Regions from separate parts of the Homo sapiens genome. Here region 1 is linked to region 2. The links are contacts of gene promoters, found by promoter capture Hi-C in blood cells and fetal thymus (Javierre and others, 2016). All regions are on one chromosome and are shown on one strand. Each heading gives the region's core, a stretch centred on a gene start or on the middle of the fragment in contact. The rest is flanking DNA. Distances are from core to core; before and after follow the strand shown. Region 1 holds the start of CYP46A1 (cytochrome P450 family 46 subfamily A member 1). Region 2 holds the start of YY1 (YY1 transcription factor).

Region 1 (4,860 bases), core at 2,200-4,699, 550 kb before region 2:
CTGGTCATTATTTCGAAAATACCTTCTCCTCCGCTACCCCCGCCTCCCCGGCACATTTCCCGCTTTCCCTGGAGGGCGGACCCAGATTTTCATCCCTCCAACTCCAACTCCTTCGGGCCTGAGCCAGCGCCTCAGATGGGGCTTCGCCTGGTCTAGGAGGGTCCGCAGGCCCCCGAGTCTCTGGGAGAACAGCCTCCGGCCACGCCGTGCGCTCTCGGTCGCAGACACAGGCGTCCCTGGGTCCCGCAGGATCCTGCCACCAGCCCGCGGGCCCCGCTGGCGGACCACGGGCGCTAGGCGTGGACTGTCCGGGCGGAGGAGGCGCCCCGGGGCAACTGGAGAACAACTTTGGGGGTCTGGGGTTCCAAGGAGAAGTTTGGGAACAGTCGGCGTTATGCGGACTTTTGCAGGCTGGGATGGGGTTTCCGGGCAGGTTTGGGGGAAAAAGGAAGGGGCCTAAGACCGCGCGCGGAAAGATGCCGTTATTTGGAGGCGCCGAAGCGGGCGGAGCCAGCCAGCAGGACTTCGCGCCGCCGCCGGGCCAGAGCGCTGAGGATCGGCGTTGCCAGGGACAACGCGTTCTGGGCGGAGCTGCTGCTGGGGCGGACCTGAGTCTGAAGAGGTGGGGGCGGAGCCTGGGGGGCTGAGCCAGAAGCGGAGTTGTGATTGGTGAAGACCACATGCTCGGGGTGGGGCCTGGGCTGGGGCGGTGTGGAGGTTGGGGCGGAGCTCTGGGGGGCGGGGCGGGGCGGGGGAGGGCCCGGAGCGCCGGAGCCGGAGGCGGAGACGTGGTTGGCGGGGACTGTGCGCCCTGGGAGGGGTCGGAGTCGGCGGGGGCGGAGCCGAGCGGGCGGGGAGGGTGCTGGGTCGCGCCTGGCCTGGGGCCGAGGCGGCGCGCGGCGCTGACAGCTGAGTCGGCTCGCGGCCTCCCGGCCCCCTCGGCGCCCGGCCCGACCCTGGCCTGGCCTGCCCTGCCCCGGAGCCATGAGCCCCGGGCTGCTGCTGCTCGGCAGCGCCGTCCTGCTCGCCTTCGGCCTCTGCTGCACCTTCGTGCACCGCGCTCGCAGCCGCTACGAGCACATCCCCGGGCCGCCGCGGCCCAGGTGAGCGGGGCTGGGGGCGGGGCCTGGCTGGGGTGCTGGGACTGGGGGCCTGGGGACAGCGTCTAAGCCGGCGTCCAGGCCGGGGGTCCGGCCTCGCCTAGTGCGCGCGGCCGCTGGGAGTCGGCGGCCCCGAGAGGGGCGCTAACTATTCTTAGTAACAAATTACTCACAGCCGCAGCAGCTGCTGGGCGCCCACCGCGCACAGCTGGGCCCCACAAACGTGATGGCAGCCACAGCCCTTTCAGGTAGGCGCTATTGTTAACCCATCGTTCAGACGAGGAGACTGAGGCGCTCAGAGGCGAAGTCACCTGCCCAAGGTCACACGGTTGGTAAGCCTAGATTTAAGCCCAGGTCAGCCTGCCTCCAAAGTGGGCGCTGTTAACTTTGGGACTTGGACAGGGTCAGCCTGGATTGGAGCACGCTGTACTTCAGTCATGTTTCCTTTTGCTTGTATTTCTGTTCTGGGACACCCCATTTGTCTTCTCCTTAGTACTTACAATTGCATTCTTGGTCCCCACCCCCACGCAACTTACACCCCCCTCAACTTGCCAACCCCCCCCCACCCCCAGCTTAGCTTTGTGAAGCTTAAATTAAATGTGTCATTTCCCTGCTCCAAGGGCTTCCCATCACTTGACAACTAAATGCAGTTCTAAATTAAGTCGGCTGCATGGCCCGCGAGGCCCCTGCCGAGCACTCAGAACCCACTCTGCAGCTTGCTCTTTCCTCTTGCTTTCTCACTACTGCCCCCAGCCTTTCTTCTCCCAGCCTCCCCCTCCCCCCGCCCCCCCCGCAGCTTCCCTCCCCCCGGGTCCTTTTCTCAAGCCTGGGCCTGGCGGGCTTCTTCCTCTGCTTGTCTCAAACAGGCCTTGCCCAGCACCTTGTGTAAAGACCACCCAGCCCCAGACTTCTCAGGGGCCATCACCTCTGAGGTTACCTTCTTTCCACCTGTTGACTGTCTGTTCACCTGTTGACTGTCTCCCCCTCTAGAATGTGAGCCCCGGGAGGACAGGGACACTCTGTGTTCGCTTGTGTATCCCCAGTGCCTGGCGTGTTGCAGATCTCAATAAATATTTGTTGAATGAATGAATAAACAATTGTATTAGACACACTTTTTAAAATCTCAGGACATGAATATTCTGGAAGGCACCCATCTCCAGCACAAGCCAGATGTACTGGCGTTAGAAGCCTGAATCTCTGCTTGATGGGTTCAGGAAAGATCTCTGTGGCTGGTGACATAGGGAGGCACCTGTTCTCCCTGCTGGCTCTCTGCCCTTCTGGTGCTCTCTCTCTCTCTCCTTGCTTAGCTCCTCTGCCTTCTACTTTACCTGGATGCTTCTTCCCCCAGCCTTCCAGGTTTGGCTTCAATGCTAACTCCTCAGGGAGGTTCCTCCTGCTCCCCCAAAAATATTATGTTCATTTTATAAACCCTGAAATCACTGTAATTTTCCTTTACAGCATAATGTTAATTGGGCAATTATTTGTGCAAGTTTTTCCTAAGTGTCTCTTTTCCATGGGCCCCCTGTCTGTCTCAGTCACTGCTGCATCTCCGACATGTAGCAGCACATTGTACATGCATAGTAGACACTCTATGAATAGCAATTCAAGGTTGAATGGTGGAAATCTCCCGTGAGTTCCGTGGTGGACACTATCACCCTCTCAAGTTTTCAGAGAAGCCATCAGCACTTAGAATTGAATGAGTTTGGTGCTTGTTCTGATAAGTTTCATCGTTACTTGGTCTTCTCATAAACTCAAATGACCTGTTCTGGTCTCTGTGTCTTGAGAAAGCAGAATTTAAATCATCTTAAAAAAAATTGAAATGTAACTTGCATTCCACAAAATGTATTCTTTAGTGTATGATTCAGTGGTTTTTGGTACATTCACAGCACTGTGCAGCCATCGCCACCGATTTCAGAACTGTTTTGTCACCCCAGAAAGAAACCCCGTACCCATTAGCCATCACTCCTCATTTTCTCCCACCCCTCACAGCCCTGGCAACCATGAATCTGCTTTCTGTCTCTGTGGATTTGCCTGTTCTGGACATTTCATATAAATGGAATCATACAATATGTGGCCTTTTGTGTCTGGCTTCTTTCACTTAGTATAATGTTTCAAAAGTTCATTCATGTAGTAGCATGTATCCTTATTGCTTTCCTTCTTATGGCTAAATTCTTCCCAAATCTTATACCACAGAGTCTACATGTGACCTGAGTGTGTGGGGTGCGGAGGGAGCAGTGGGAGGAAGATGAATATAATCATGATTGGGCTATTTATTCTAAGGAGGTGAACTGAACAATGCATATATAAAAAGATTTTGGATTAAAAATTGGTTAGTGGTCAAATATAAAACTGCACTAAATGAAAGTTCTGGAAACTCTTCTAGCAGAAACCCGATGCCTTGACATTAAAAGCCTGGATCTTTAAACTATGATTGGCGATACTGTGGTTGACGAGAGATCTGTGTGTTGAGTCTCCAGTAGTAGCATTTGCCCCCGGGTACCCCAGGGCTTTGCCAGCTGGCAGGCAAGGAACCCTCTCGCTGCAAGAGGCAACTCTTCATCTTCCTCATTCTACAGGAGGCCCTCCCTCAGTGCCCCTCCTCTGTGCTTTTCTTACCACATCCTACTGCACCGATCCGTGTAACAGCTGAAAACTCAGACCCCCACACTCAGATCCCACACAAACACCTGTAGCTTCTTTATTTCTCTGTCACTGTTCTAACTTCCCTCATCAGCCCCTACTCTCCTGGTAATGTGGGAGTGGATGTAAACTTGACAATGAAAGGTCTTTCTCTCCCAATTTTTATTTATTTGGGGATAAATTGACTCCTCCTGGACAGTTCTGGTTCCACTCCGATTTGCCCAGTTGCTGGGGTGGGGCTGTTCAGCAAGGAGCAGGGTGGCCAGCCATGGGGGAGCCCCACAGCTGGCTCTGGCGGGTGGTGCATCTGATGAGCTTTGGGTGCCCAGCTGAGCACTCGCCACCCTGCCCCTCTGGCATGAGCCACAATCATGGTCCCTCACCCTCACGCCTACCCCTAGTGGGTAGCCCGCTCCTCCACTACTGGAGCATTCCCTTCATCCCTCTGGGTGACTTCACTGTGGGCTCTCCAGATGGCCTCTCCTCGTTCACTGGCCAAGGTTTTCTCTGCCCACAGGAGAGCTTGGGTCCCCACTCAGCCAATCATGATGTTGCAGGAAACTGGATGTGCTGGAGAGGTGTGGGGTGGTGGGCGGTGGGGGATTGCCTCTCCTCTCTCCCAGGGCTGCTCTGCTGTGTCCAGTCTATCACCAGGGACATGCCAAGTGGGCTTCTGCCTGCCGGGGCGCTGAGCAACAAGTCCCCATGTCTGGCCATGGTGTTAGCCTTACCTGCTTGTTTTTAACACCTGGGTCTTCCTGTTCTGTTGTCGCCTCCCCAGCGCCCCCTGCAGGTGCCAGAAGGAATGGGTTTTTTTTCCCCTTTCTTGGTGGGCCATGAGGACCCCACCCCTCTCTGTGCCCTCTGTCTTCCTGAGATGGCACTCACCTTCCTTCCCATGTGGCAGGGAACCCCAGGGGTTAGGGTGGAAGCTCTGGGCTCAGACTCTGTCCTCACTTAAGTGACTCAAAACTGAGAACATTCCCCCAGAATGTGAGCTTTGGGAAGCGACAATGAGGACACTAGATTACTCTGGAAATACATCCAGGCATGTGTGATGATCACAGCCCATCTTCCTGCAAGTTCAAGGCCACTCACCTGGCGTGGGCCTCCACTGCGG
Region 2 (4,665 bases), core at 2,034-4,533:
AAAAAAAAAAAAAAAAAAAGCAAGCTTCACGTACAAGGCATCACTTCATGCACAAGGCACTGAGCTGACAAAGCCATGGCCTTTGCTCAGATAGGGTTGAGAGACAATAATCAATTATTGCCAAAATAAAAGGACTCTAGGAATTCAGAGGGAATCCCAATGCATTTTGTACAAACAGAACAGAATAAAAGTAGGGAGGCTAGGTGCACTCCAGCACTTTGGGAGGCCAAGGCAGGAGACCAGACTGGGCAACAGAGCCCTTAAAACCTCATATCCAAAAAAAAAATTTTTTAATTAGCTGGGCATGTGGTGGGGCACCTGTAGTCCTTAGCTCTTTGGGAGGCTGAGATGGGAGGACTGCTTGAATCCAGAAGTTCAAGGCTGCAGTAAGCTATGATTGTGCCACTGCACTCTAGCCTGGGAGACAAAGCTAGACCCTGCCTCAGAAAAACAAAAACAAAAAAACCCACAGCAGTTAAATTTATCCTCACTTTTATTACTATTTTTTAGAGACAGAGTGTCACTCTGTCACCCAGCCTGGAGTGCAGTGGCGCGATCTCGGCTCGTTGCAACCTCCGCCTCCTGGTTTCCATTAACTCACCTGCCTCAGTCTCCTAAGTAGCTGGGTCTACAGGCGTGCACCACCACGCCCAGCTTATTTTTGTATTTTCAGTAGAGACGGGGTTTCACCATGTTGGCCAGGCTAGTCTGGAACTCCTGACCTCAGGTGATCCACCTACCTCAGCCTCCCAAAGTGCTGGGATTATGGGTGTGAGCCACCACGCCCAGCCTATCCTCACTTTTAGAATCCCATGATTCTGAAACTGCAATTTGACCTGTCCTTTTAAAATAATTTTTACCTTTAGCAAGTGCAAGCAAGCGAGAGCCACACGACACATTATCTTTGCATGTCTAGTCATAAGATACTCCACCGTTAAACAGTAGAAAACAAGAATATCTCCCACTAGAAAAACTTAAGGCCTAACAGGTCACCTCCTATGGGGCAAGTTTAAAAAGCTATTTTCTGGAGCAGGTACTAGGATGGCCTTCAGGAGCATTTTAGTGCTTTCTGACCTACTACCTTTCCTCAAAGCTTTCAATCCTTTTGGGCTTTCTCCACTTGAATGTGAACACCTACAGATCTACAGCTCAGAAACCAGGATGCTTAATGGGTAATTCCCTCATTTCTCTTGCTCTCACAATTGGTGTTTATGGGGAAGTATCAACTACTTGCAGTGCCATTTCCCCATCAATTACTAGAGAGTGGGGAAAGTGAAATTTAAAAAGCATTAAGACATGTAAAAGTTCTCCCACAACTGGTTTCCATTCATGAAATATTTATGCAGAGTTTATAAGCTATAAAGCCAGAGATGACTTAATTCAACAGATTTGACTTTTCCAAACTGAGTGGGTGCAGTACTCCAAGGGGAATTATTCAGGTTTCAAAGCTCAGATTCAAAGAGAAAACGATCTAATTTGTCACTCCTTACACTAATATTCTCAAAAGTCAAGTCCAATGCGATTTAGCAATAAGAAGGGACTAGGATTTATAAAGTTGCCTTTTAATGAGAATGTATAGTCTACTTGTTTTAACAAGTTGAGCCTAAGATTAATGTATTGCGTACAGTTCAGAAAATCATGGGCCTCAACTGCATGAACACTATTACAAAACAGTAAATGTTGATAATATTTAAGTTGAACAAATTCACAGAGGCGTTAAATCGGCCAAACGAGTACAACAAAGACACACCTTTCCAACTCTTCAATTTGTCATAGTTTCCTTAAAAATCAGGAAATCTTTGTTTTGCTTTAAGGCAAATTGTCAGGTCGACCAAAAGGACAGATAAGAGCAGAAACACTTCGCTGCAATGTAACTCATTCAGGAAGGTTTAACTTGCCGCTAATCCGTGCCACAAAAAAAAATCTAGGCTCTGTTGCAGGTACAATGGAGGACACGGCTGAAAAAATTTGGAATTTTAAATGAGACAAATGCAAAACCTGGTGGGCGTAAAAAGGAGCACCTATGAAAGTGACAAATAGGGGGAAAGGGTGGGCAAGGGAAACAATGGCTGACTGGAGAGCAAAGAAGGGGAAGCTCAGGAGAAAATTTTAGAAAGCCGCCAGGACCCTGTAGTTCTAAGATCTACGGGGAAACAGGCACCCAACGGCTGCGTCTCAGGTTTCCGCGGGTCACTAAAGAATAACGGACATCCTCCCAACGGTGGCCCTGGGGCTCCGCGGGCGCTTCCGCCGAGCTCGCGCCGACCCCGCGCTCGGCCCCGCACCCCGCCGGGCGCTCGCGGCGAGATACCGGACGCTGCCCGCGTCGCCCGATTTTGTCCGTTCGGTCCTCCACACTCACCCCGCGGCCATCGCTCGCCCGAAGCCAGGCGACAAGAACAAACACCTCCCGACGCGAAAAAGGAAGCACAGGCGATTCTCGTCAAAGCAGACTTTATTGGGGCGACAGGGCCGCCCCGCACGCGCCAGCCGCTCCCCGCGCGGCCCCCGGGCCGCCCACCCGCCTCAACCCCGCTCCCGGCCGGCCCCTCCCTCCCTTCTCCTCAGGCTCCCGCCCCCGTGGTGCCCGGGGCCGCGCGGACCGCTCACCGGCTCCCAAGGCAGCGGCTGTAGCGGCGACGCCCCGTTCCCGAGTGCGGCCCCGGCCCGAGGCGGCGGGTTTTGTGGCTGTTGCACCGCGAAGGGCGGCAGCCGCGCGACACCGGGAAGCGGGAGGCGGTGGCGGCGGCGGCGGCGCGCTGACGTCACGCGCCGCGGGCCAGCCAGGGCGCGTGCGAGCCGCCCCGCCCCCGGTCCCATCGGCCCCAATCCGGGAGGAGCCCGGCGAGTGGGCGGGGCCGCGGAGGCCAGCGGACAGATCGATTGGCCGAGAGGAGAATCGAGAGGGCGAACGGGCGAGTGGCAGCGAGGCGGGGCGGGCTGAGGCCAGCGCGGAAGTCTCGCGAGGCCGGGCCCGAGCAGAGTGTGGCGGCGGCGGCGAGATCTGGGCTCGGGTTGAGGAGTTGGTATTTGTGTGGAAGGAGGCGGAGGCGCAGGAGGAAGGGGGAAGCGGAGCGCCGGCCCGGAGGGCGGGAGGAGGCGCGGCCAGGGCGGGCGGTTGCGGCGAGGCGAGGCGAGGCGGGGAGCCGAGACGAGCAGCGGCCGAGCGAGCGCGGGCGCGGGCGCACCGAGGCGAGGGAGGCGGGGAAGCCCCGCCGCCGCCGCGGCGCCCGCCCCTTCCCCCGCCGCCCGCCCCCTCTCCCCCCGCCCGCTCGCCGCCTTCCTCCCTCTGCCTTCCTTCCCCACGGCCGGCCGCCTCCTCGCCCGCCCGCCCGCAGCCGAGGAGCCGAGGCCGCCGCGGCCGTGGCGGCGGAGCCCTCAGCCATGGCCTCGGGCGACACCCTCTACATCGCCACGGACGGCTCGGAGATGCCGGCCGAGATCGTGGAGCTGCACGAGATCGAGGTGGAGACCATCCCGGTGGAGACCATCGAGACCACAGTGGTGGGCGAGGAGGAGGAGGAGGACGACGACGACGAGGACGGCGGCGGTGGCGACCACGGCGGCGGGGGCGGCCACGGGCACGCCGGCCACCACCACCACCACCATCACCACCACCACCACCCGCCCATGATCGCTCTGCAGCCGCTGGTCACCGACGACCCGACCCAGGTGCACCACCACCAGGAGGTGATCCTGGTGCAGACGCGCGAGGAGGTGGTGGGCGGCGACGACTCGGACGGGCTGCGCGCCGAGGACGGCTTCGAGGATCAGATTCTCATCCCGGTGCCCGCGCCGGCCGGCGGCGACGACGACTACATTGAACAAACGCTGGTCACCGTGGCGGCGGCCGGCAAGAGCGGCGGCGGCGGCTCGTCGTCGTCGGGAGGCGGCCGCGTCAAGAAGGGCGGCGGCAAGAAGAGCGGCAAGAAGAGTTACCTCAGCGGCGGGGCCGGCGCGGCGGGCGGCGGCGGCGCCGACCCGGGCAACAAGAAGTGGGAGCAGAAGCAGGTGCAGATCAAGACCCTGGAGGGCGAGTTCTCGGTCACCATGTGGTCCTCAGGTGAGCGCCGGCCGCGCGCCCCGGCCCCGGGATGTTTTTGTTTTGAAGGGAAGCCATGTTTTATGTGTGTGATGGGCGCCGCCATCTTCTTCGCCAGGGCAAGTATGGCGGCCCCAAAAGATGGCGGGCCGTGCGGCGGCGGGGGCGCGGCGGCGGCGGCGGGCGGCGGGCCGCGAAGATGGCGGCAGGCCGCGGGGGGGAGGGGCCGGCGCCGCCCGGCTAGGCCGCAATGGCGTAGTTTCTCCGAGAGGGGGAAGCGCCGCGCGGGGCGGAGACGGCCGGGGGAGGGGCCGGCGCGCTCGCTCCCCGACGCCCTCGCTCCCCGCGCCCGCATCAACGGGCGCGCCCGCCGGCCCGTTGTGGCGGCAGCTGCGCGCCCCCGGCCCGGGCGGGACGCGGGAGGTCGTTGGCGGGGCTGCGCCGCGGCCTCGCGGGCCAGGGATTGCTGCCTCCGGGACGCGCGCCCCCGCCCCCGCCCGGCGCTGCCGTTACCCCATCGGCCGCTGGAGGGCGCCGCGGGCGCTTGCCCCGCCCGCCCCCAACTTCCCCGGACTCCCAACTGCTCCCCGGTGGCACCTTCCAGAAGGAGGGGGCTTGGCACT

What was found. Contacts are between HindIII fragments. The CHiCAGO score rates a contact against its expected background, and 5 or more counts as called.
Region 1: a fragment that was not itself captured here is called in contact with the fragment with the promoter of YY1 in region 2 in 1 of 17 cell types (erythroblasts); the score reaches 5.0 in erythroblasts.

What each region holds. Positions count from the first base shown.
Region 1 is chr14:99,683,434-99,688,293 of GRCh38, forward strand. CYP46A1 (cytochrome P450 family 46 subfamily A member 1) reads left to right here and starts at 865. Exons shown (of 15, transcript NM_006668.2): 1 at 865-1,103. The coding sequence starts at 985. RefSeq lists a silencer at 670-1,249. The HindIII fragment of the contact is 3,529 bases long and covers 1,686-4,860 here.
Region 2 is chr14:100,235,861-100,240,525 of GRCh38, forward strand. It overlaps YY1 (YY1 transcription factor), which reads left to right and starts at 3,284. Exons shown (of 5, transcript NM_003403.5): 1 at 3,284-4,063. The coding sequence starts at 3,385. It overlaps YY1-DT (YY1 divergent transcript), which reads right to left and starts at 2,761. Exons shown (of 2, transcript NR_189150.1): 1 at 2,611-2,761. RefSeq lists enhancers at 2,346-3,198, 4,036-4,195 and silencers at 2,436-3,035, 3,096-3,175, 3,326-3,395, 3,886-3,935, 4,206-4,665. The HindIII fragment of the contact is 3,842 bases long and covers 1,092-4,665 here.